Regions from separate parts of the Homo sapiens genome. Here all the other regions are linked to region 2. The links are contacts of gene promoters, found by promoter capture Hi-C in human tissues and cell types (Jung and others, 2019). All regions are on one chromosome and are shown on one strand. The core of a region is centred on a gene start or on the middle of the fragment in contact, and the rest is flanking DNA. Distances in the headings are between cores, read along the strand shown. Region 1 has its middle 33 kb from the start of ACTL6A. Region 2 holds the start of MFN1 (mitofusin 1). Region 3 overlaps PIK3CA (phosphatidylinositol-4,5-bisphosphate 3-kinase catalytic subunit alpha).

Region 1 (3,113 bases), core at 565-3,064, 180 kb before region 2:
CCTCCAAGTCCTTAAACAGTTTATGAAGAATGTTTGTGAAATGGAAGATTGCTTATGCTCATCTTAAAGCCACTTAGTGCTGGCACAAGCCTCAGTCCTCAGAATCATCTATAATGCATGCACCGTGTGCCCTCAGCAGTGTTTTTTCTCTTTTCTTGACGTCAGTTGCCATTTGTAAGGGTTTCCAAGGTAGTGACCAGACACATCTAAAGGCAAGCCTACAAGAAAGAACAACATACTTATTTTTCCCTTTTAGCCTCAAATATATTTAAAATGCATAACACATTCAGTTTGATGAAATTCTACTTCAGAGAGAACCAAACTTCACAGTACAGAAAAGAGCTCCCTACTCTTGTCTCTGCAGCTCCGCTTTTAATGACTGGATTTGTTTAAAAAAAAAAAAAACTATGTAGACTTCTCTTTACACCACAGTTTCCCTCTGCCCCCAGGGAAAAAATGTGAGAAGGTGCTAGGTATATTTTAAAAATAATTTTGGTAAAGTCAGTAGAAAGACCTAGTTTACCTCAAAAGTCAGCATGGGAAAAATTTGGATCTGTTCAAAATAGGAATATATCATGTTCCTTGGAAAGTATGTGATTTTTAAAAATTAATTAAGACATAATACTTAGGCCTATCAATCGGTATGGTTAATTGACATATTTCTACCTGGACAGATGTTACATTGTATGAGTTGTATATTTTATATAAATAAAAGGTAAGTTTGGCTAGGTGTGGTGGCCCGTGCCTGTAATCCTAACACTTTGGGAGGCTAAGGCAGGAGGATCTTTTGAGCCCAGGAGTTCAAGACTAATCTGGGCAACATAGGGAGACCCCCATCTCTACAAAAAAATTAAAAATAAAAAAATTAGCCAGACCTGGTGGTGCATACCTGTAGTCCCAGCTACTGTGGTGGGAGGATCACCTGAGTCCAGGGGGTTCAAAGCTTCAGTGAGCCATGATTGCGTCACTGCACTCCAGCCTGGGCAACAGAGTAAGACTCTGTCTTAAAGATAGATAAATAAATAAATAAGGGTAAGTTTTATAACTGTACACATTTAACATGTATGTTTTTATTTGTGGCAGCAATAAATAAACCATTATGGATCAAGGAGGAACCCCATCACAGTTTTTAAACCTACACTCAAGCCAGGTTGAGTAATGTGGTGCTTACAGTCCCAGTTACTTGGGAGGCCGAGGTGGGAGGATTGCTTGAGAACAGGAGTTGGAGGCCAGCCTGGGCAACATAGCAAGACTCTGTACTTTTCTGTTTATTTATTTATTTATTTTAGAAATGGGATCTGCTATCTTGTTGTTTAAAAACAACAACACAACAACAAGGAAATAAATTCATTTGGCCCATCGCCATCCTATTTAAGCTTCTGATTTTTTTTTTCTTTTAAGAGACAAGGTTGGAGTGCAGTGGTGTATCACAGCTCACTGCAACCTCAAACTTCTGGGCTCAAGAAATCCTCTTGCTTCTGCCTTCCAAGTATTTGGGACTACAGGCGTGCACCACCATGCCCAGCTAATTTGTTTTTTTACTTTTAGTAGAAACAAGATCTTGCTATGTTGCCCAGGCTGGTCTTTAACTTCTGGCCTCAAGCAATCCTCCCCTGTTGGCTTCCCAAAGTGCTGGAATTAAAGGTGGGAGCCACTGAGGCCGGCCAGTTTCTGATTTTTTTAAAAAACTTTCAATTGATTAATTTATTTTGGGGGGAAATCTCACTGTGTTGCTCAAGCTGGTCTGAACTCCTGGGCTCAAGGAATCCTCCTGCCTCAGGCTCCCAAGGAGCTGGAATTACAGGTGTAGCCGCTATGCCTGGTTTAAGCTTCTAATTTTCATGCGCACTCATTTAACTAAGATATATTAAATGCTTTCTGTTTTTCAGGTGTTATGCTGACAATAGGTAGCTGAGTATGTGCCTCTTCTCCAGGGACTTGCAATCTAGTTGGAAAGACGGCATGTAAATAACTTTTTAGGGATATGTGACAAGCAGTCCATTTGGGCTGCTGTAATAAAATACCTTAGATTGGGTGATTTATAAATAACAGAAATTTTCTTCTCACAGCATTGAACATTGAACGGGCCATACTAACAAGTGCTGCGAGAAGCCTTTGATTCTGCCTGGAAAGATCTGGAAAGGCCAAACCCCTGTCCTCAGTTCCTTGTAGAGACAACAGGGTAATCTTTTTTTTTTTTTTTTTTTTTGAGACAGAGTTTTGCTCTCATCACCCAGGCTAGAGTGCAATGGTGCAATCTCGGCTCACTGCAACTTCTGCCTCCCGGGTTCAAGCGATTCTCCTGCCTCAGCCTCCCAAGTAGCTGGGATTACAGGCACGTGCCACCATGCCCGGCTAATTTTGTATTTTTAGTAGAGATGGGGTTTCTCCATGTTGGTCAGGCTGGTCTCAAGCTCCTGACCTCAGGTGATTTGCCCGCCTCGGCCTCCCAAAGTGCTGGGATTATAGGTGTGAGCCACCGCGTCTGGCCTAGCAGCAGGGTAATCTTTGTACCGGGGTTGGAAACTGGTAGCCTACGGACTATATCAGGATTCAAAACTCATTTTGTTTGGTCTACATAGGATTTTGAAAATCCGAGAATATCTTATATAAAAATTCAGATTTGTGGAGTTTTCTGAAAAGTTGCAAGATCTGGCAATTCTGGGCTACAATCAACTGGATCTAGACAAGCTGCTTTCAGTTTGTTTTATAACCAAACTGCATGACCACTGACTAATTATATTGCCTTTCAGCAGTTGACCTTCTGTCCCGTTAAGTGGGATTGATAATACCACGTTTGCGTTTTTTGAAAGTGGATTCTGTAAGAGCAGGGAGTGGAGCAGTATTTCTCAAAATGTGGTCTACAGCTACCTTTGTCAGTATCATGTACAACAGTTCTTCCCAACATTTACTGTGGGTATGAATCACCTGGCTATTCTGCAGACTGTGCTCTTTCAAAGTCATACAGTGCATCATTCAACAAAGGAGTCACTAGTCACATGTGACTACTTCAGTTTAAATTAATTCACATTCAACTCCTCAGCATACTAGTCACATTTCAAATGCTCAACAGCTACATGTTCCTGTGGCTACATCACTGGACAGTGCAATAG
Region 2 (3,243 bases), core at 353-2,852:
TGTGTGATCTTGGGCAAACTGTTTAACTTTTCTTTGACTTCGTCTCTTCATCTTTAAAATGACAGATGGTGGTGATGAAAATTAAATGAACTATTAACATAGCTATTTCTCATCACCTAGTGGTGATGAAAATTAAATGAGCTATTAATATACTAAAGTTCTTAGTTGTTATTAATACCATTTAATTTTCCCCTTCTGGAGGTTAGAAAGGGGTTTTATTCATTATGGTACTTCTCATAGTATACAGTATAATGCCCTATACATGTGTTCAATAACTAACGTTGAAAGAATAAGCACTTTTATATATTTTCAACAGTAATTACTTTAAAAACTTAAGAAGAACTAACCTTCAACAAAATGTGATCCTTCAGTAACAAACTCCAGTAACTGGTCAAAGATTGCAGTAATCGCCTTCTTAGCCAGCACAAAGTGCTTCAGTGGAGAAACAGGTTCTGCCATTATGCTACTAGAGGGAGATAAAGTTAGAAAAGCACCAACTAAAGTGGATGATAGACATGCAAACTGATGACACACCAGTGACATTCATCAACTCCCCAATGAAATAAATTATGCTGGCAAAATGTTTTTAGGTAATTCTTTTTTGGGAGTGTTCTAGTCAGACAGTTAGAGACGACTTTTGAATGATATTTCACTAAAATAAGTGAAATCTATTAGCCAAAATCTTGGTTGCAATTTCTACTCAATTTCCCTTTGGTGAAGACGAAACTAATTGTGACTAAGTTTGTCACTGCATGTGACTCTAAAGTACATCAGGGAACAGGGTTAGTGAGGCGAAGCCAAATTCACACACAATAAGGAAGTTACTAAGTTTCTCAACCTGAAGCTCTAGGTGAGTAGGAGTGGATATGCAGAGTGAGGAAATAAAATTCTAAGATCACAATGTGAGGCTGACATTTAGAAAGGTAAGGCTTCAAGAGGGCATTAACGCTTCCAGCCAAAGTACCAGAAACTTCAAGGACTATAAGTTTAAGAAAGCATAGGTGGTTTCTCAAGAAAAAGACACCAAAGACAAACAATCACGGTCTAATCCTGGTGTGTACATGGAAAGGAACAGTGGCCATAAAGAAGGCGGATTCTTCCAGAGAGTCAAGAAATGACCGCGCGAAGGAGCTGCGTGGGAAAAGCCGGGTGGGGGTAACGCCCCGGTCCGGCCGGTGTGAACACCTGCCTTAGAAAAGGCCTCCCACCTTCCCACACCGGGCGCAGGAGTCAGGGCCAGAGCCCACCCCCGCCCCGCGCACGACCGTCTAGGTCCGGATCCCCCAATCCCACCCCCGAGCACGGCCTCGTGGGCTCCGTGGGCTCGACTCGGCCGCCAGCCCCGTTCGCCCGACAGCTGGCTCTCTCCTTTCCCACAGGACCGCGGCGGGCGGCGCCTCGTCACACAACGCTGCATGCACGACTCCCGCCCCCGGTCCCCAGTCGCTCGAAGGTCACTCCGAGCGTCGCAAACGTGCTGTCGAGGCAGCCGGCACTCACAGTCTCCGCTCCAACTATCACCCGGCAACAGCAACTCGGCCACAGATGCCAAACTGCCTCATCTTCCCGAGAAGTTAAAGGCGGAGAGGAGGCAGGGGGAGTGGCAAAGGGCGGTCACTTCCGGCCTCTTGCCTCCTCTGTTCTGTTTGGCTCCGTGGCCGGAAGCGCATCTATGCCAGGCGCCATTTTCCTTAAGGGCAGAAGGCAAGGTTTGTTGTGGGCAGAGACTGCTACCAGGAGAGTGGTTTTCCGTTCCCCCTTCCAACTTCTTCCCCTCCCTTCTCCCCTCAAAGTGTCCAAGTATCTGCCCAGCCTAGGCTTAGCTAGCTTCCAATGATGGTGGTGGCTGACGCCTATAATCCCAGCACTTTGGGAGACCGAAGGGGTGGGATATCTCTTAAGCCCAGGAGTTCGAGACTAGGCTGGGCAACATAGGGAGGCGCCCCCCCCCCCGCCCCCGACCCTCTTCCTCCTCCCCGTCTCTACAAAATTAAAAAATGAAAAATTAAAAAAATTTTAAAAACTTAGCGAGGCGTGGTGGCACACACCTGTGGTCCCAGCTACTTCGGAGACTGAGGCGGGGGGATTGTTTGGGCCCGGGGCTGCAGCGAACTGTGATTTATCGTGCCACTGCACTCCAGCCTGGGCAAGAGAGCGAGACATTTTTTCAAATAAATAAATAAATAAATAAAAGAAAAGAAATCCAGATCGTATTACTTTCCGAACTTAAAAAGCTTTCCAGGCCGGGCGGGGTGGCTCACGCCTGTAATCCCAGCACTTTGGGAGGCCGAGGCGGGCGGATCACAAGGTCAGGAGATCGGGAGCATCCTGGCTAACACGGTGAACGCCCGTCTCTACTAAAAATACAAGAAGTAGCCGGGCGTGGTGGTGGCGGGCGCCTGTAGTTCCAGCTACTCAGGAGCCTGAGGCAGAGAATTGCTTGAACCCGGGAGGCGGAGGTTACAGTGAGCCGAGATCGCGCCACTGCACTCCAGCCTGGGCGACAGAGCCAGACTCCATCTCAAAAAAAAAAAAAAAAAAAAAAAAAAAAAAAAAAAAGCTTTCCAACAGCTTGCCATTATACTTAAAATTAAAGCTTCGGATGGTAACCGCCCAAGGAAAGCCTTCACCTTGCCCGCTGACTAGCCAGAACTGATACAAGACAGGGGGATTGCAAATAAAGACTTAGTCACGCAAAGCCGGCTGTATGGGAGACTGGAGTTTTATTATTACTGAAATCAGTCTCCCCGAGCAGCACTGGGGAGCAGAATTTTTAAGGACAATTTGGTGGGTTGGGGGAGGCCACTGAGCCAGGAGTGCTGATTGGTCAGGGATGAAATCGCAGGGAGTGGAAGCTGTCTTTCTGCACGAGTCAGTTCCTGGGTTGGGGGACACTAGGTCAGATGAGCCAGTTTATCGGTCTGGGTCGTGCCAGCTAATCCATCAGTTCTGAGCATAGGTAGTCTCAAAGGGAACATTTACTCTGTTTGAATTTTAAAAATCATGATGGTATCCTTTTATTAGTTCTGTACTTAATAATTATATTTAATATAATTACTGCATTTTAAAGCAAGAGTGACATATTACAGGCTATAAATTATAGCACGGTAATTAAATGTTTAATATAGTAAGTAATAAGAAATTTAATCCATTGCTTTTGTGTGTGTGTGGAACACACATATTACCAAAAAGCCAGGAGAGTAAACACAAAGAAGGAAAAGAATTAAAATATAAACGCTAAAA
Region 3 (3,337 bases), core at 118-2,617, 180 kb after region 2:
AAATATAATATTGCTAATTAAACATGCTAATATTTTGCTAAGGATTTTTGTGTCTACATTTATGAGGAATACTGGCTGCTAGTTTTCTTTTCTTGGGATGCCTTTGTGTTGGCTTTGGTATCTAGTAATACTGTCCTCATAAAATGAATTGTGATGCTCTCCTCCCTCCTGCTTTTCTGAAAATGTGGTTGGGACTTGTATTTTTTTCTTCCTTTGGTGTCTGACAGAATTACTAGCTATGCCATTAAAGCCCAGATTTTCTTTATTGGAAGTTTTAAACTACTAATTCAATTTATTTACTCTATATAGGTCTATTTAGATTTTCTACTTCTTTTGGAGTCAGTTTTGGTAATTAGTATCTTTCAAAGAATTTGTTCATTTCATCTAAGTTGCCAAATTGGTTGTTGTAAACTTGTTCATAATATTCCTTTATCTTTTTAGTATTTATAGTATCTGTAGTAATACCCATTCTTTCATTCTCAGTATTTCTAATTTACATCCCTTCTTGTTCATTTTAGCTAAAGATTTACTGAACTCTTTAAAGAACCAGCTTTTGATTTCCTTGATTTCTGTTCTGATCTTTATTACTCCCTTTCTTCTACTTACTTTGGTACACTTTACTCTTTCTTTTCTAGCTTCTTAAGGTAGTAGCTTAGATAATTGACTTTTTAACCTTTCTTCCTTTCTGGCATAAGCATTTAAAGCCAAACATTTCTTTCTTAGCACTGCCTGAGAGCTACATACCAAATATTTTCTTACATTTTGTGTTCATTTTCACTCAGTTAAAAATATTTTCTATTTTGCCCAGTGAATTCTTTTTTCACCCATGGGTTACTCAGAAATAGTATTCATTTGCACATATTTGGGGATTTTACTTATTTCTTCCTTATTTCTCTCCATGATTTTTAATTCCTTTGTAGTTGCAAAACATACCATATAATTTCAATTCTTCCATATTTATTAAAACATTTCATTTTTGTGGGCCAGTATACTATTCACCCTGGCTAATGTTACCAATGCACTTTAGAATAATGTGTTTTCTACTGTTGTTGGGTATTCTGCAGATGTCAATTAGATTGAGTTGGCTGATTGCTTTATTCCTGTCTTCTGTATCCTGTTTTCTGTTTACTTATCCTATCAACTGTTGAGAGAAGAGTATTAAAATCTCCAACTCTTCTAAATATTGAATTGCCTATTTCATCTCTCAGTTCTATCAATCTTTGTTTCATGCATTTTGTGCCTCTCTTAAGTGCATATACATTTAGAATTTTTATATTTTCCTGCCATATTTGTCACTTCATAATTTTGAAATGTTCCTCTTTATCTCTAATAATACTCCTTTTCTTACAATCTATTTTGGCTGACATTAACACAGTTACTCCAGTATTTTGATGCCTGTTTTCTGAAGAAGGAAATCATCCAACCTCCTCACACTGTCCTTACTGGAAGATACATTTATTTTGATGATAAAAATTAAACAAAAATTTAAAAGGGGAATATAATTTATAGGTTCAGAAGATATTTAAAATGAAAGCATGTTTATCACACTTTTATACTAATACAATTAAAAATCTGTGTTAAAAAGCATATATGAACAAACGTATTTCTATATCCCCTCCAATGTCCCCCACTAGAATTCACTCCGTTACCAACATTGGCTTCACTTTGGGGAGAATGTGAGTGAGTGGTCAGGAGAAACTGATACAGGAAATTAAAATTTGCGAATATGTCTTCTCCTTTATATTACTTTTTTCCCTTACAAAAGCAAGGCAAAAAAATAGCTATTGATTGTTTCTTGAATTATTCGTAATATGAATGACAATGCGAGTCTTTCATTATTAAGCCTGACTGAAGCTTCTAGTTTGGTATATCTATTACTTAGTACGTCAAAGAATAGCTTTCTATCCCTATTTTACTAAGGTCGTGTGTGTGTGTGTGTGTGTGTGCGCGCGCGCGTGTGCACGCGCATGTGCATGTCTGTGCTGGAGAAAGGAAGAGGGAGGGAGGAAGGGAGGCAGGGAAAGAGAGAGAATTAATGTCTGTTACAGATTTCCTAAGATTAAAATGACCTTTGTATTTCCAGAATAAATGCCATTTGGCTATGGTATGTGTGTGTGTTTTAACAAACTACTGAATCTGCTAATATTTTATTTAAGATAACTAATACTTTAAGTGAGATTGGCTTGCAGTTTTTTTGTATGTGTGTAATGTCTATGTCCACCTCTAAAACAGAGTAAGAAGTATTATAACAGCTTTTAATATACTGAATGTTTGAAAGAAGAGTAATGAGAAGGGGCTAGCCTAAGTAGGTATTAAATCCTTAGTTATAAAAATAGAATAGTATTGGCCCATGCAGATCCAGAGAACAGAACTGAGTTCAGAAACAAACTTAAGTACAATAGTTGCTGCAATTTTGTATAGGGAAAAACCCCAGAACCTTAATTAGGACAGATTATTTAATAGACGGTCCTGGTAGAATTGATTAGTCACGTGAACTGAAAAAAAATGAATTTTAACTGCTTTAAAATAAACGAAGAAAACTTTAAAATGCTCCCAAGTAACACAAAAGATTGAAGACATGGAAAAACATTCCACATTCTCGGATAGGAAGACAACCAATTCCCAAAATGTCAATTCTTCCTTAGATAATCTACACATATGATGTAATCCCAATAAAATGCCAATAGGATTTTTGTGTTTGTGTGTAGAATTAAGCATGCTGATTCTAATGTTTAAAAAAAAATTGCAGGAGACCAGAAAAATTAGGGGAGGGGAGAAGGCAGGGGGAGAGAAAGGTCTAGCCCTACTGGATAGGTCACTTCAAAGAGGGCTTGTGGGGCTGTGAAACCAAGAGGTCTTAACAGTATGACCAAAAACTGAAGTTCTCTATAGGATGCTGTAGCACTCAATGGTGCTATGTTTTCCTCAGGAGATATGACTCAGCCACTCATAAACATAACATGATAGTCCATGATTGTTGACGTGGGAAAATAAATAAACATCTCAAAAGTTTAACCAAACCTTCTCTTCTCTAGAAAAAAAAATTATGAAACTACAATAATCACAATGGTAAGATACGGCTCATAAAGAGCCAGACAAAAGGAAAAAAAACCCAGAAATTAAAAAAATAGACACAGAATGTGTTACATGATAAAGGTATCATTTCAAATCAATAGGGAAGAGACCACCTGGAAACGGCTAGACATTTGGGAAAAAAGAGTGGGTTTCCAATTTATACCTTATATTGAAATGAATCTTAATAGAATAACAAACACAATATAAAAATAAAATCATAAGGATATAACATTTCACCTATATTTGCAAAATTTAAAAAATT

What was found. The method cuts DNA at HindIII sites, captures the fragments that hold promoters and counts their contacts. A contact is called where the count stands out against the background at its distance.
Region 1: a fragment that was not itself captured here is called in contact with the fragment with the promoter of MFN1 in region 2 in 1 of the 25 tissues and cell types used here (thymus).
Region 3: a contact is called between a fragment that was not itself captured here and the fragment with the promoter of MFN1 in region 2, in 1 of the 25 tissues and cell types used here (pancreas).

The regions. Positions count from the first base shown.
Region 1 is chr3:179,528,822-179,531,934 of GRCh38, reverse strand. No RefSeq gene overlaps it. Among named protein-coding and RNA genes, the nearest start is that of ACTL6A, 33 kb to the left of the region's middle. The HindIII fragment of the contact is 4,005 bases long and covers 1-3,113 here.
Region 2 is chr3:179,346,068-179,349,310 of GRCh38, reverse strand. It overlaps MFN1 (mitofusin 1), which reads right to left and starts at 1,602. Exons shown (of 18, transcript NM_033540.3): 1 at 1,501-1,602; 2 at 348-466. The coding sequence starts at 459. RefSeq lists enhancers at 811-1,030, 1,364-1,893 and a silencer at 1,151-1,310. The HindIII fragment of the contact is 4,459 bases long and covers 1-2,397 here.
Region 3 is chr3:179,168,686-179,172,022 of GRCh38, reverse strand. The region is part of intron 1 of PIK3CA (phosphatidylinositol-4,5-bisphosphate 3-kinase catalytic subunit alpha); the gene reads right to left. It overlaps LOC124900560 (small nucleolar RNA SNORA25), which reads left to right and starts at 2,813; the gene lies at 2,813-2,940. The HindIII fragment of the contact is 7,643 bases long and covers 1-3,337 here.